3 separate regions of the Homo sapiens genome follow, and regions 1 and 3 are each linked to region 2. The links are contacts of gene promoters, found by promoter capture Hi-C in human tissues and cell types (Jung and others, 2019). All regions are on one chromosome and are shown on one strand. Each heading gives the region's core, a stretch centred on a gene start or on the middle of the fragment in contact. The rest is flanking DNA. Distances are from core to core; before and after follow the strand shown.

Evidence for each region. Contacts are between HindIII fragments. The study calls those that stand out against the background at their distance.
Region 1: the fragment with the promoter of CDC42EP1 here is called in contact with a fragment that was not itself captured in region 2 in 1 of the 25 tissues and cell types used here (bladder).
Region 3: the fragment with the promoter of JOSD1 here is called in contact with a fragment that was not itself captured in region 2 in 1 of the 25 tissues and cell types used here (dorsolateral prefrontal cortex).

The regions. Positions count from the first base shown.
Region 1 is chr22:37,557,689-37,561,996 of GRCh38, reverse strand. CDC42EP1 (CDC42 effector protein 1) reads right to left here and starts at 1,517. Exons shown (of 3, transcript NM_152243.3): 1 at 1,409-1,517. RefSeq lists enhancers at 1-198, 1-274, 275-881. The HindIII fragment of the contact is 19,033 bases long and covers 1-4,308 here.
Region 2 is chr22:38,171,039-38,175,633 of GRCh38, reverse strand. All of the region lies in intron 1 of PLA2G6 (phospholipase A2 group VI), which reads left to right. Among named protein-coding and RNA genes, the nearest start is that of PLA2G6, 8.5 kb to the left of the region's middle. RefSeq lists a cis regulatory region at 1,452 and an enhancer at 1,380-1,524. The HindIII fragment of the contact is 3,596 bases long and covers 331-3,926 here.
Region 3 is chr22:38,697,827-38,702,505 of GRCh38, reverse strand. It overlaps JOSD1 (Josephin domain containing 1), which reads left to right and starts at 1,563. Exons shown (of 5, transcript NM_001360236.2): 1 at 1,563-1,706; 2 at 1,888-2,703. The coding sequence starts at 2,519. RefSeq lists a silencer at 1,097-2,056. The HindIII fragment of the contact is 3,457 bases long and covers 309-3,765 here.

The DNA of each region.
Region 1 (4,308 bases), core at 268-2,767, 610 kb after region 2:
TAGAGGATAGTCAGGGCCTGGGCACATGGCCTGAGCTCACTCAATGGTGGGAATGACGCAAGAACAAGTTTTGGAGCCGGGATCGGGCCAACAGGGGTCGCTGTGGAGGCACATGTGGTCGCGGGGAGGCCAAGGGCGGGTCTGAAGGAGAGCGGGGGCGGCTGCACCCTGGCATTCACCTGGGGGTCACCCGCAGGCCGCAGTGCTGGCCAGGGGCCCACGTCTCATCCTGGAGGCCACTGCTCGGGTGCACACAGCCCACTTCCTGCGGGCATCCAGCTGGGTGACGCCCCCCCCCACCGCTGGACAGCGGGTCCCTGTCATGGTTACGGCAGCTCCCCCAAACCTGCTCTGGTCCCTGGAATAAGGGGTTAAACCGGTCGGCTGACTTCTCCTGCTCCTCAAAGTCCAGACGCTTCAAGGTGGAGAGACGGGGAAACTGAGGCCAGAACGGGGTAGCTAGTTGTTCGCAGTCGCGCTAGGGGACCCGGTCCTCCGTATTCCAAGGGGGGCACCGTGGGCCATTAGGGAGCGACGGGGAAAGTGGAAAGGAGACGCGCTTCGTGCCCACCGCCCCGAGTTAGAGCCGAACCAGCCCGGGACCGAGCGAGACGGAGCGGCTGCGGGCCGCGTCTCGGGTCCCCGCGCCACGTTTAGTGCCGCTGCGGCCTCCCGGCCAGTCCCCCCTACTCTCTAAGCCTCAGTTTCCCGGTCTAGGAAAAGGGCTTCGAATGTTGCGGGTCTGGCACTGCTGGGGCAAAGGCAGAACAATCTGGAGGGCGGCCGGGATTGGAAGTCCGGGAAAGACTTCGGCCATCCAACATTCCCTGGGGGGACGGGGCTCAGGACGCGGAGGGTCGCTCCGCGGGGGAAGGGGACGACCGGCTGTCTTGGCCGGAGGGGAACCGGACGGGATGACCTCATCCGCGGCTCCAGCCTGGAATGCGGCGGTCGGGGAGGGGGGCAGGGTGCCTGTCCATCTCCCCGGGCCCCCCACCCCCCACTTCCCGCTCTCCGCGTGGGCCTCGGCGGAGGGGAGACATTCCGCCGCGTCGCCCGCTGCCCGCCCCGGCCCTTCCTTCCCCCGCGCAGGAAGGCGCGGAGACAGCCCCCGCTCTGCCCCTCGGCTCGCCCCCTCCTCGCGCATTTTGGCCGCTCAGCCGTGTCCGATCCTCTGCCCCCTCCACCAGCCTGGAACGGGACACGAAGCCCGAAAGCTCGGAGTTTCCTCGCGCGGCTCCGCGGCCGCGCCCGGCCTTCCTGTGGGCACCCGGGGGCGCCTCTCCCGGGCGGGTCCCGTCCCCGTTCCGGCCCCGGGAGCCTAGTAGGGTGCAGAGTCCCCGCGGGCGCCGGGACCCGCCGGCCTCCACGGCCTCCGCCCCGAGGACCCGCGCGCCCGGGCTGTTACCTGGCTCCGCGAGCCCCGGGGGCGCGGGACGAGGGCGGACTCGTCGTCTGCAGCGGCGGCGGCCGCGCGTCCCGGCTGGCAGCCCGGGAGAGTCGCTGGGCCGGTCTGCGCCGCCCTGGCCGCGGGCTCCGCGGGCTGGATCCGGGGGCGGGGGCGGGGTGTGGGCGCTCCCGCCTCCCGCCCGTCTCCTCCCGCCCGCGGGCGGGGCCCGGCCCCCTCCCCGGCCCCCTCCCCGGCACCGTCCTCGCGGCCGCCGAGAGCTGGCAGGGACGCGGCTGGGGGGCCAGGCCAGGCCTCTGCTCGCCACCCCGGACAAGGCCAGCCGGGGAACGTGCGGGCTGCCCCGGGGAGGCGACTCCGGTCCCCGGCCGCCAACCCCTCTTCCACCGGTTCCCCTCGTGGCCTTGCTTGGGGCGTCCAGGCCTGATGAACTCTCCTCCCTCCTGGGCCCTCCAGCCGCGCCCTGCGGGAGTTCGGGGAACCGGGAAGCTCGATCTGAGGCCTTGAATGCCTGGGCCTTTAAACCTTGATGTTTACAGGCATGACATGCCCACTCCTTTGCTCCCCATTCTCATTCCCTTCCATCCGGTACAGGCCCCGCGGTGCCCAGGAGGAAGACAGCCATACTGGGGCGACTGGTAGAGTGGGGTAGAGTGGCCGTCAAGACCGGGACCCTGGAGCCGGACAGCCTGGGCTCCTGTCCTGCCTCAGTCACTACTTACCTTTCTCTGCCTCAGTTTCCTGATCTGAAAGTGGGATAGATAATAGCAGCATCAGATGTTGTGTGAAGTGTTTCCTGCTCCAAGAGCACCTAGGAGGCTTGCTCGGCAGGTAAATGAAGTCGCATCTCAGAGACTTTACAGACCCTCCCCCCACCCCGCCCACCTCCATGGAGGGCAGGGAATCAGCCATACCCGGGACCCTGTGCCATCCTCAAGGAGGGGAGATAGATCTCTGGCCCCTGCCTCCCGTTGTTGTGCCCTCCTTTGACTACTCCCATCTGACTATAGAGTCCTCGGGCTGTCAGGGCACAGAGAGGTCCCTAATACTTCCTGCAGGGCCTGGGGGCTCAGGAAATCTTCCTAGAGGAGATGATACCTGAGTTAAGTCTCTCTCTCTCTCTTTTTTTTTTTTTTTTTTTTTTTTTTTTTTTTTTTTTTTTTTTTGAGACGGAGTCTCTCTCTGTTGCTCAGGCTGGAGTGCCATGGCATGATCTCAGCTCACTGCAGCTTCCACCTCCCGGGTTCAAGCGATTCTCCCTCCTAAGCCTCCGGACTAGCTGGGATTACAGGCACCCACCCACGCCCGGCTAATTTTTGTATTTTTTAGTAGAGAGGGGGCTTCACCATGTTGGCCAGGCTGGTCTTGAACTCCTTACCTCAGGTGATCCGCCTGCCTTGGCCTCCTCAAGTGCTAGGATTATGGGTGTGAGCCACTGCATGGTTGTGAGTTAAGTCTTAAAGGACGTGTAGGCAGAGGGAAGGGCAGTGGAAATGCACAGTGCACAGCTGGCAAGGGACAGCACAGCAAAGGCTGGGAGTGGAGGACCCTGCAGCGGAGGCAAACCCGGCTGAAGGAGACTGGCTGAGCGCTGTTGTGGCCGGGGATGAGGAGCTGTATTTACCCGCAGGTGGAGGAGACAAGGTCTTTACTGTTCACCCAGGGGCTAGGCCTCTTCCACTGGCTCCCTGAATCCCCATGCTGGCCACCAAGGGAAGGAGCTATTTCTGCAGCTGGACAAATGAGGAAACAGAGGCACAAAGCATTCTAGCATTTGCTCAAGTGGCACAGCAGTAGGAACTCTTTCCCTGGGGGCCGGCCCAGGAGTATTTTGTCCCATGGAGAACTGGAACAGCATCAGGACAGTGAGCCAGCAGGCAGCACTGGCAGGTGTACATTTAGAAGACTGACTGTTGCCCGGCGTGGTTGCTCACGCCTGTAATCCCAGCACTTTGGGAGGCTGAGGTGGGCAGATTACTTGAGGCTGGGAGTTTGAGACCAGCCTGACCAATATGGTAAAACTCCGTCTCAACTAAAAATACAAAAATTAGCCAGGCGTGGTGGCGGGTGCCTGTAATCCCAGCTACTCGGGAGGCTGAGGCAGGGAGAATTGCTTGAACCTGGGAAGCGGAGGTTGCAGTGAGCTGAGATCGCACCACGGCACTCCAGCCTGGTCAACAGAGCGAGACTCCATCTTAAAAAATAAAAATAAAAAAGTGCCGGGCGCGGTGGCTCACACTTGTAATCCCAGCACTTTGGGAGGCCGAGGCGAGCAGATCACTTGAGGTCAGGAGTTCGTGACCAGCTTGGCCAACATGGTGAAATCCTGTCTCTACTAAAAATACCAAAAATTAGCCGGGCATAGTGGTGGGCGCCTGTAATCCCAGCTATTCAGGAGGCAGAGGCAGGAGAATTGCTTGAATCTGGGAGACGGAGGTTACAGTGAGCTGAGATCGTGCTACTGCACTCCAGCCTGGGCGACAGAGCGAGACCCCATCTCAAAAAAACAAAAAACAAAATAGAAATCTGACTGTGAGTGAAGAATGGACTGGAAGGACAGTGATGGAAACAAAGAACTAGTGCTACTGTGGTTATTACTATTAATAGCATCAGTAGTAACCAGCACTTATTGAGCACCTGATGCATACCAGGTCCTGTAGCTCATTAACATGCATTATGACATTTAATTCTTGTGAGAGCCCCATAGGGAAAGTCCTGCCATGGTGTCCCTTTTGCAGATAAGTGAAGTGATTTGCGTAAAGCTCCCTACTTTGGCAGGATGGCCATACTTTCCAGTTTGCCTAGGACAGCCCAGATTACACATACTGTTCCAGTGTAATTATTAATAGCACTTCCTTTCATTCTCAAAGGTGACCTGGTTAGACAATCAATTACACGTC
Region 2 (4,595 bases), core at 879-3,378:
GGATAAGAAGAGATTTGTTCATTTGTCCTTTGTGGAGCACACATTCAGGTTAAGAAAGTGGGGAGGATGGGCTACGCTGATGGAGCGTATGTGTGGTATCCCCAAGTGCACTGAGACACGAGTTTGACGTGTTCTGGGAAGATCGATGGTGCGGCGTGGCTGGAGTAGAGGTGAGGGATGAGTTGGAGGGGTGAGTTGGGCCAGCTCTCATGGATGCTGGAGTCTGGGCTTTCCCTGGGAGGTCATGGGGCGCCACTGGCCAGGGTCAGCAGGGAGACCTGCAGCTGGATTTGCATCGTACAGTGGGCATGGAGGGGTGTCAGGCTGGGTTGGGAACCGTGCAGGCTGGAAGGGCACTCTGGTGCTCTGAGCATTCAGAGGGGGCAGCTGGGCCTTGAAGGATGAGCAGGGGCTCCAGCAGGAACTGGAGAGCGCATTCCAGGGAGGACGCAAGTGCAGGCCCCTTTCACTACAGAAAAGCAGTTTTCACACAGACCTTCCAAAGGGGAGGAGAGGGGACTGCCTGGGCCTGGCAGCTGCGGCAGGTAGCAGCAATCAGAGGGCAGGGACCGCTCCTCCCGTGCCTGAGACCTGCCCAGGGTCCTTCAGGGAATTCGTAGCTGAGGAGGAACCAGATTTTTGGGACTGAGTTCTCCCTCACCACCCGCTCTGAGCCACCCTCTTGGTCCCTTGTCCTCTACTGCACTTCTTCCGGGGCTTGGCTCCTCGTCATGAGAGGAGCTTCCCTGGGCATGGCGAGGGGCGTGACTGACATAGCAGCCCTGGACAAGTGGCTCCAGGTGACCTGTGTTCACGTTGATCACAGCACTAACCACGGCCCCTCCTCTCAGCACCTTCCCCTCTCGAGCCGTCCAGTCCCAGTGAAAATGCTCACCGTTCATGGGTGGGCTGAGCAAGCCCCTGATCTCTGCCTTCCTCCGTGTTCTGATCTGCTTCATCTGCTGTGAAGGCCTCTCGCCATTTCCCCCGCTGGCAAACTCCTGTTCTTCCTGGAAAGTTCAGCTAAAAAGTCATCCCCTTTAGGGGTCCTTCCCTCAGGGGACCGTGCACTTGGCGAGACAGGGACTGGTCTTGGGTCTCTCTGTTGACTGTTTTATGAACCCAGGTAGTCACTTCCAGGGAACTCATCAGAGATGCTACCATTGGCTCCAATCTCCCTCTGTTCCCACTCGAGGTTTTTTGTTTCTTCGTTTGTTTTTCTTTCTTTCTTTTTTTTTGAGACAGAGTCTCGCTCTCGCCCAGGCTGGAGTGCAGTGACATGATCTCGGCTCACTGCAAGCTCCGCCTCCCGGGTTCACGCCATTCTCCTGCCTCAGCCTCCCGAATAGCTGGGACTACAGGCACCCGCCACCACGCCCAGCTAATTTTTTTTGTATTTTTAGTAGAGACGGGGTTTCACCATGTTAGCCAGGATGGTCTCAATCTCCTGATTTCGTGATCCGCCCGCCTTAACCTCCCAAAGTGCTGGGATTACAGGCGTGAGCCACTGCGCCCAGCCCGTTTGTTTTTGTTTTTTGGTGGACATCAACTTTAATTTGCCCTTTGTTTTGTTTTGTTTTTGAGGCAGGGTCTTGCTCTGTCTCCCAGGCTGGAGTGCAGTAGTGCAATCTTGGCTCACTGCAGTCTCGACCTCAAGAGGATCAAGCAATCCTCTTGCCTTAGCCTCCCGAGTAGCTGGGACCACAGGCGCACACCACCATGCCCAGCTAATTTTATTTTATATTTTGTAGAGACAGGGTTTTGCCATGTTCCCCAGGCTGGTCTCAAATTCCTGGGCTCAAGCAATCCGTCTGCCTCAGCCTCCCAAAATGCTGGAATTACAGGCACGAGCCACTGTGCCCGGCCTTAATTTGCCCTTTGAACATGTACAATTCAGGGCCTCTCTGGGCCTCAGTTTCTTGATCTCTGAGATGGGAAGATGGGATAATAATACTTGTTCCTCCCGTCCTTCAGCTCCTCCAGGGGACCCTCACACCAGCACACTCTCTGTCAGTCTTCCCTCAATGAACCCAGCAGGCAAGCTTGGTTTTGACAGAGGATGGGTGAGCAGAGATAAGGAAAACGGCCAGAAATATCTGGCTTCCCTCAGCAGGGGCACCAAAATTGGTACCTGGAAATTGCCTGGCTTGGACAGGCAGAATTGTCACTGTCAACCCCCACCACCAAAGGTCTTGGGTCTTTGTCTTTCTGCTTGTGGTGTTTGAGAGAGCTGCTTGACACAGCCGAGGTGCGGTCTGTGTCAGGTGACCTGGGCATCCTGGGGGTGCAGGGAGAAGCCCAGGTAAGGAGGAGGAGGGGCCGGTCATCAGTGGGGAAAAGTGATTGTCTACCCCACGGGAAGGTCAAGGGTAGGACGCTGTGAGAAGCCAGGGGGAGAGATGAAGTGAGGCATGATGCGGGGGGCCCTCATCCACCATCCCCCTCTTGCAGCTGTGCTGGGAAGAGCCTAGGCTCCAGGGTCCAAGGTGGCAGGGACAGAAGGAAGCACGTGTGAGCACTTTCTCCCTGCTGGCCCGCCTTCCTGGTTGGCAATGCCGTGAGTGTTCCAGGATGTGGCCCCGTGGCTGTCATTTCCTTTCTTCCACCTAGTGATAACAATGGCCACTGTTTGTGTGCCCACAGTCGGCCTGTGTCCCAGACACCTTCCCTCCATTGCGTCATCTCGTCCTCCTGCCTACCCTGAAGGCTGGATGCCAGCCAAGCCTGTCGTTTCTGTGGCCATGCTGTCGTGGGTGTGTGGGGGGCATCCCCTAGCCCCAGGCTCTGGTGGGGGGTACACAGGCTGGGCCATTGACGAAGGGGTGTGTGGAATCTTTCTTTGATTTCACTGCACCCCTGGTGACTTTCTCCCTCAATCTGAGGCTCATGGGTGCTGGATGCTCTTGACTCTCTGCCCTTCCTGGGCGCACCCCTCCGCGTCCCTGTGGGCCCGTCCTCGGGGTAGCCTCTCTGCGCTCTTCCAGGCCAGGCCTGAGTCCCACAGGTCCCCATCTTCCCGGCTGCAGCCCCCAGAGGCTCAGCCTATACTGCTACTTCCTTTGAAAACTATAATCGCTTTACATAGCATCTGGAAAATAGGGAAAAGGAAAAAACAAAAGCCCATAAACCCAGCACCCTCATCTACTCAATGGCATGTTTTCTGTCAGTCTATCTTGGTTTGTTTTCTATCAGGCTTTGTTTTTTCTATGCATAATATTTACTCAGTTAAATTTTTGTTTTGACAAACTTTCTGTGAGCCAAGCTTGTGGACGGAGATGAAAAGACGAGCAGCTGCCTTTGAGAAACTCAGACTCTGGGCCAGCCCATCTGGGTGCCAGCTTTCACTGCTCCACCCACTAGCTGGGTGACCCTGGGCCCGTGACTTTACCCCTCTGTTCTTTGGTGTTCTCATATGTAAAATGAGGATAATAATAGTAACCAGTTCATAGAGTGGTTGTCAGACAGAATGATTAATGTACGTAAAGCTTTCAGGATGGTGCCAGCAAGATGCACAGGAGTGTTTGGTAGGAGGATGACGAAGCTTACCGTCTGGCAGGAGGGGCAGTTGTAACATGCTGGGCTGTGATAGTACAGATGTGTTTAAAGTGAGGGAGAGCCCAGAGCAAGGAGAGAGAACCTGGCATCTGGTGATGGTGTATCAAGAACATTTTAGGCCAGACACGGTGACTCACACCTGTAATCCCAGCACTTTGAGAGGCTGAGGCAGGCAGATCGCTTGAACCCGGGCGTTCGAGACCAGCCTGAGCAACGTGGTAAGACCCTGTCTTTATAATTTTTTTTTTTTTTTTTCTGAGACGGAGTCTTCACTCTGTCACCTAGGCTGGAGTGCGGTGGTGCTATCTTGGCTCACTGCAACCTCCACCTCCCGGGCTCAAGTGATTCTCCTGCCTCAGTCTCCCAAGTAGCTGGGATTATAGGTGCCCACCACCATGCCCAGCTAATTTTTTTATATTTTTAGTAGAGACGGAGTTTCACCATGTTGGTCAGGCTGGTCTCAAATTCCTGACCTCAAGTGATCTGCCCTCCTCAGCCTCCCAGAGTGCTGGGATTACGGGCATGAGCCACCATGCCTGGCCTCTATAAAAATTGTTTGGAAGAAATTACCTAGGCCTGGTGATACACACCTGTAGTCCTAGCTACTCAGGAGGCTGAGGTGGAAGGAGGTAGAGGCTGCAGTGAGCCATGATTGAGCCACTGTACTCCAGCCTGGGCAACAGAGCCAGACCCTGTTTCAAAACAACAACAACAAAAACATTTTTAAGGAGGAGGCTGAGAACCACGAGAACCAAGCTTGGATTTGAAGAAGGATCAGGGCTTTCTCAGACAGAAAAGGAGAGGAAGAACATTCCAGATAGACATCATTGAGAGATGGCACTGAGCCTTGTAATGGGACACTGCGAACTTTTCTTCAGTTGTTATGATCTTTTTTTTTTTTTTTTTGAGACGGAGTTTCGCTCTTGTTGCCCAGGCTGGAGTGCAATGGCGCCATCTCAGCTCACCGCAACCTCCGCCTCCCAGGTTCAAGCGATTCTTCTGCCTCAGCCTCCCAAGTAGCTGGGATTACAGGCATGCGC
Region 3 (4,679 bases), core at 314-2,813, 530 kb before region 2:
GACCCTGTCTCAAAAATAATAAAACTTCAGGCCGGGCGCGGTGGCTCACGCTTGTAATCCCAGCACTTTGGGAGGCCGAGGCGGGTGGATCTCAGGAGTTCGAGACCAGCCTGGCCAACATGGTGAAACCCCGTCTCTACTAAAAATACAAAAATTAGCCGTGCGTAGTGGCAGGAGCCTGTAATCCCAGCTACGCGGGAGGCTGAGACATGAGAATCGCTTGAGTCCAGGAGGTGAAGGTTGCAGTAAGCCGAGATCGCCCCGTTGCAATTCAGCCTGGGCGACAAAAGTTAAACTCCATCTTAAAAAAAAAAAAAAAAAAAAAGGCCGGGCACGGTGGCTCACTTCTGTAATCCCAACACCTTGGGAGGCCAAGGCGGGTGGATCACCTGAGGTCGGGAGTTCGAGACCAGCCTGACCAACATGAAGAAACCCCTCTACTAAACACACAAAATTAGCCGGGCGTGGTGGCGCATGCCTGCAATCCCAGCTACTCGGGAGGCTGAGGCAGGAGAATTGCTTGAACCCGGGAGGCGGACGTTGCGGTGAGCGGAGATCATGCCATTGCACTCCAGTCTGGGCAACAAGAGCGAAACTCCGTCTCCAAAAAACAAAACAAAACAACTAAATTTGAAGTGCAACAGTTTCTTCTCGTTTTTCCAGTTTTACAGAAAACCCAAAAGAAGGGCAGCTAAGGTGGATAATGATGCCTACCACGCACCCTAAGAGTAGGTAAAGGGGAAAAAATGAAATCCACGTGGGACTGCGAGTAGTTTTCGCCTTTTCCCGAAGACGCACACAATGCGCTTAGGTATACCTCGCGCAGAGGTCTCTGCAGAGAGGAAAGCCACCGTGAGAAGAGCGGGGAGCCCCCAGGCAAGAAGGCAGTGGCTTGTGTGTAGTGAACCGAAATGCGACACCAAGGAACTGCAACAGGATTCTCCTTTCCACTTGAAATGTGACTCCCAGCGAGACACCTACCCTTGACGCTCCCTGGACAGTGCGGCACGGTCGGGCCCACTAACCAAGGCAATTTGCGCCCGACCGAATCAGGTGCTTCAAAATCCCCCCTGGTGAGCCGCGCGTTAACCACACATAAAACAGTCAACGCAGAAGGAGCGAGAACGTTCGGCCGAAAAGCCCGGCACAGAGAAGGGAGGGGTGCTGAAAGCCGCGGACTGCAGCCGCTGGCCTGGCTGCCGCCCCGAAACAACGCCCACGCCCGGGAGAAGGGCAGGCTGGCGTCCAGGTAGGACTCCCTCAGGCCGCCCCGCCAGGGGCCGCGCCGAGCGGAGCGGCTGGACCCCAACCCTGCCGGCCGCCGCCGAGGTGCGCAGCCCGCAGCCCCACACCCACGGCCTTTGCAACACCCCAACCGTTGAACTGCGCCCCTACACGCCCGGCGTCTGCGGCTCCCAGGCCGGTGCCGATGACGTCAGACTTACGTCAGGCGTGACGCCACGGCTGGGAGGAGTGAGGACGGCGCGGGAGGGCGTTTCCGGAGCACGCGCCGGGCGGGGGCCGCTGACGTCGGGCTCAGGTGCGCGCGCCCGCCCGCACGGCCCAGTTGGCGGCGCGCACTCCAGGTGGCGGCCGGCTGCGGTGAGGGGACCGCCAGCGGCGAGCAGTCCCGGCGGCCCTGGGGTCTGCGGCCGGGGGCGCGGCGGGAGGGCGTCTGGGCCTGCGCTCACGTGACGGGCGGGGAGGTTTGTGTAGGGGCTGCGAGCCGGGTGGGCGCGGGCCCGGGAGCGCGAGGCTGACTGTCCGGCCCCACCCCTCGCGGGCCAGCCCTTCGCCGCGCGGAACCTTCCCTCGGGCAGGGGCCGGCCCCGCCGCTCACTTCCCGCGCCCGCTCGCCGCTGACCGGAGTTGTCTCCTCCTCCGCAGGGCCGCGGCCAGAGGGCTAGAATCCGCGCCTTCCGAGGGAGCCGCGCCCTGCGGGCCCCACCGTACCCGAGGGGATGGAGGGCTGCCCCCGAGGCCCCCGCGCGGCTCGCGGTCCCACGCCTGCCGGCCCGCGCTAGCTACTCGACTCGTGCGCTAAATTTATCCGTCACCCAGGCCTTGTCTCCCGAGTCATTGGCGTCGTGGTTCAAAAGAAATGGAAGAAAAGGAGCGATGTGACCGATTGTGTTCGGTCCTCCTGCTTTGAGGCCTGGCATTTGCAGAGGGAAACAGCAAGAAAATCGTGGGGATTTTGGAGGGGGGTGGGAGGGAAGGGTGGGGAAACGGAAACAAGGTCTTACATTTTATGTGTTTTTTTAAATTCTGCACTTTGACAGTGGTAGCAAAATAAAAGTAATCCAAAAGTTATTTTTCTATTGAGAAGAGAGAAGAGGTGGGTTTTATTTTTTTCCTTTTGATTCCAATCTTTTCTCCCAGTGACAAAGCATAAATCATGGACACCAGAGAATAAGGTGGACCTCAGGAATCCGGAAAAGACTGAGAAGCTTACATTCTTCCTCTAGAGGGAAGAGTGGGGTGTTTATAGCCATCTCTGGAACCTAAAACAAAAAACATGAGTTGTGTGCCATGGAAAGGAGACAAGGCCAAATCTGAATCATTGGAGCTGCCCCAGGCAGCACCCCCACAAATCTACCATGAGAAACAGCGCAGGGAGCTTTGTGCCCTCCACGCCCTCAATAACGTCTTCCAGGACAGCAATGCCTTCACCCGGGATACGCTGCAAGAGATTTTCCAGAGGTAGGGGACCCTTCTCCTTGGCATCTTGATACTGATATTTCTGGATTTCTGTGGGTGGGGCAGTGTCTCAGCTTCATAAACCTTCAAAGCTGTAGGTATTAGCTAGATTGCGTTAGCAGGTATAAGGGACACAAGACATGAAAAGATAATCACTACCATTTATCAGGCACTTACGGTGGGCTAGGAAAGTACTCATAGCCTCAGCTGTGTTTTCTTGAGTGATCTTCAACAGTCCCGTGGAATACGTGTTAATATGTGATGTTATTTCCATTTTACTGATGAAGACACATTTAGTTCAGTACCTCGCCCAAGATAACAAGACTTGGAGCTGGGGTTGAATTCTTATATCTATGCTGTTGACCACTATGCTATAATGCCTGTAAAGCTCTGCTGCCGAGGAGTTTACAGTCTAGAAGTGGGACTAGATACGTACACGTTCAGTCACCTGTCTTTAAAGGTGGAATGTGGTGGGTACCACAAGCAAGATGTATAAACAATGCTCAGCTTTTCTGTGAGGCCATGTGCTGGCAGTAGTGCTGTTCGTACATTGCTTTGTGAAGCTCTCCCAACAGTCATTTCACTGCCTGTATTATGCTGATAGGCAGAAAGGTCAGGTAATATGTCCAAATAGCTTCTAAATAGCAAAGCTATAATTTGAAGTTGACTCCAGATCTCTTCTTTCTCCTTTATTCTAGATGGCCTTTCTTACCCACTTAGAACAAATGCCACCCCACAGGTTAATAGAGGTTCAGGTTTTGGCCAAGTACGGTGTAATCCCAGCACTTTGGGAGGCCGAGGAGGGCAGATCACCTGAGTTCAGGAGTTTGAGACCAGCCTGTCCAACATGGTGGAACCCCGTGTCTACTAAAAATACAAAAATTAGCCCGGTGTGGTGGTGCACGCCTGTAGTCCCAGCTAGTCGGGAGGCTGAGGCAGGAGAATCGCATAAACTTGGGAAGTGGAGGTTGCAGTGAGCCAAGATTGCACCACTCTGCACTCCAGCCTGGGTGACGGGTCTCGGAAAAACAAAAAAAGAAGTTCAGCTTTTTTCTCTTTGCTTTGATTTTCTAGAATTACTTTATTAAAGGTTTTGAGAGTCAGTTCTGTGGTGTCTTAATGGACACAACAGCATGGCTGCAGTCCATAGCAACTCAGGTGATGATCTTGCCTGATGACCCCGACTAGAAGTAGTTAGGCCCGCGCAGTCCTCGCTGCAGAGAAGCTCAAGCATTCTTCAAGCAGTGCATATTAGCAATTCCAGAAGACCTTTTTCTTACTCTCTTAGCTTGGAAGTGAAATTGTTGCCACATAGGGACCAGAATTACAGCTGGAAGCAACCTATTTGGGGTGATTTGTAAAACACAGGTATGGACCATTTGCCCTGAAAGAGCCAAAGGCCTACTCTTAGGAGAATGTTAATCCCCAGATGCAGACAAAACTATAATGAGAGTAATTATTTTCCAATGCCAGTAGTAACCAGAGTAATGCCTTACCAGAGCTAATATATCATTTGCATCATGGCCATTATCTGGCAGCAAGTAGAATTGACTCTTCAGGACCTGGGGCACTGGGAGATAAAATAATTCGTCTCAGATCATCAGGTCATGTCACTGAAAGGAGGACCCAGTACATGCTTCCTTTTGGCCAGCCATTAGTATTTCTCCTACTCCTAATCAGATATTTGCAAATTATTTCCTGAGCTAAAACTAGGGAGAAGGAAAGGACTCAGGGTGAGTACCTCAATGGCTTAGTACTTTGTGATATGTATGAACAATCTTGCAACAACCTTATCAGTGATGAACTTAGGAAACTAGGATTCATTTTAGGCGATTTGCCCAGTTTCACCTACTAGTAAATAAATTCCAGAAACAAGATTCTGTGTATCCAGTCACACTCTGGTAGAAAAGTTTTCACTTCTGTACATTTGGCCCCTGATCTGACTATGGGAATAATGATAGGATCACTAACACACATGA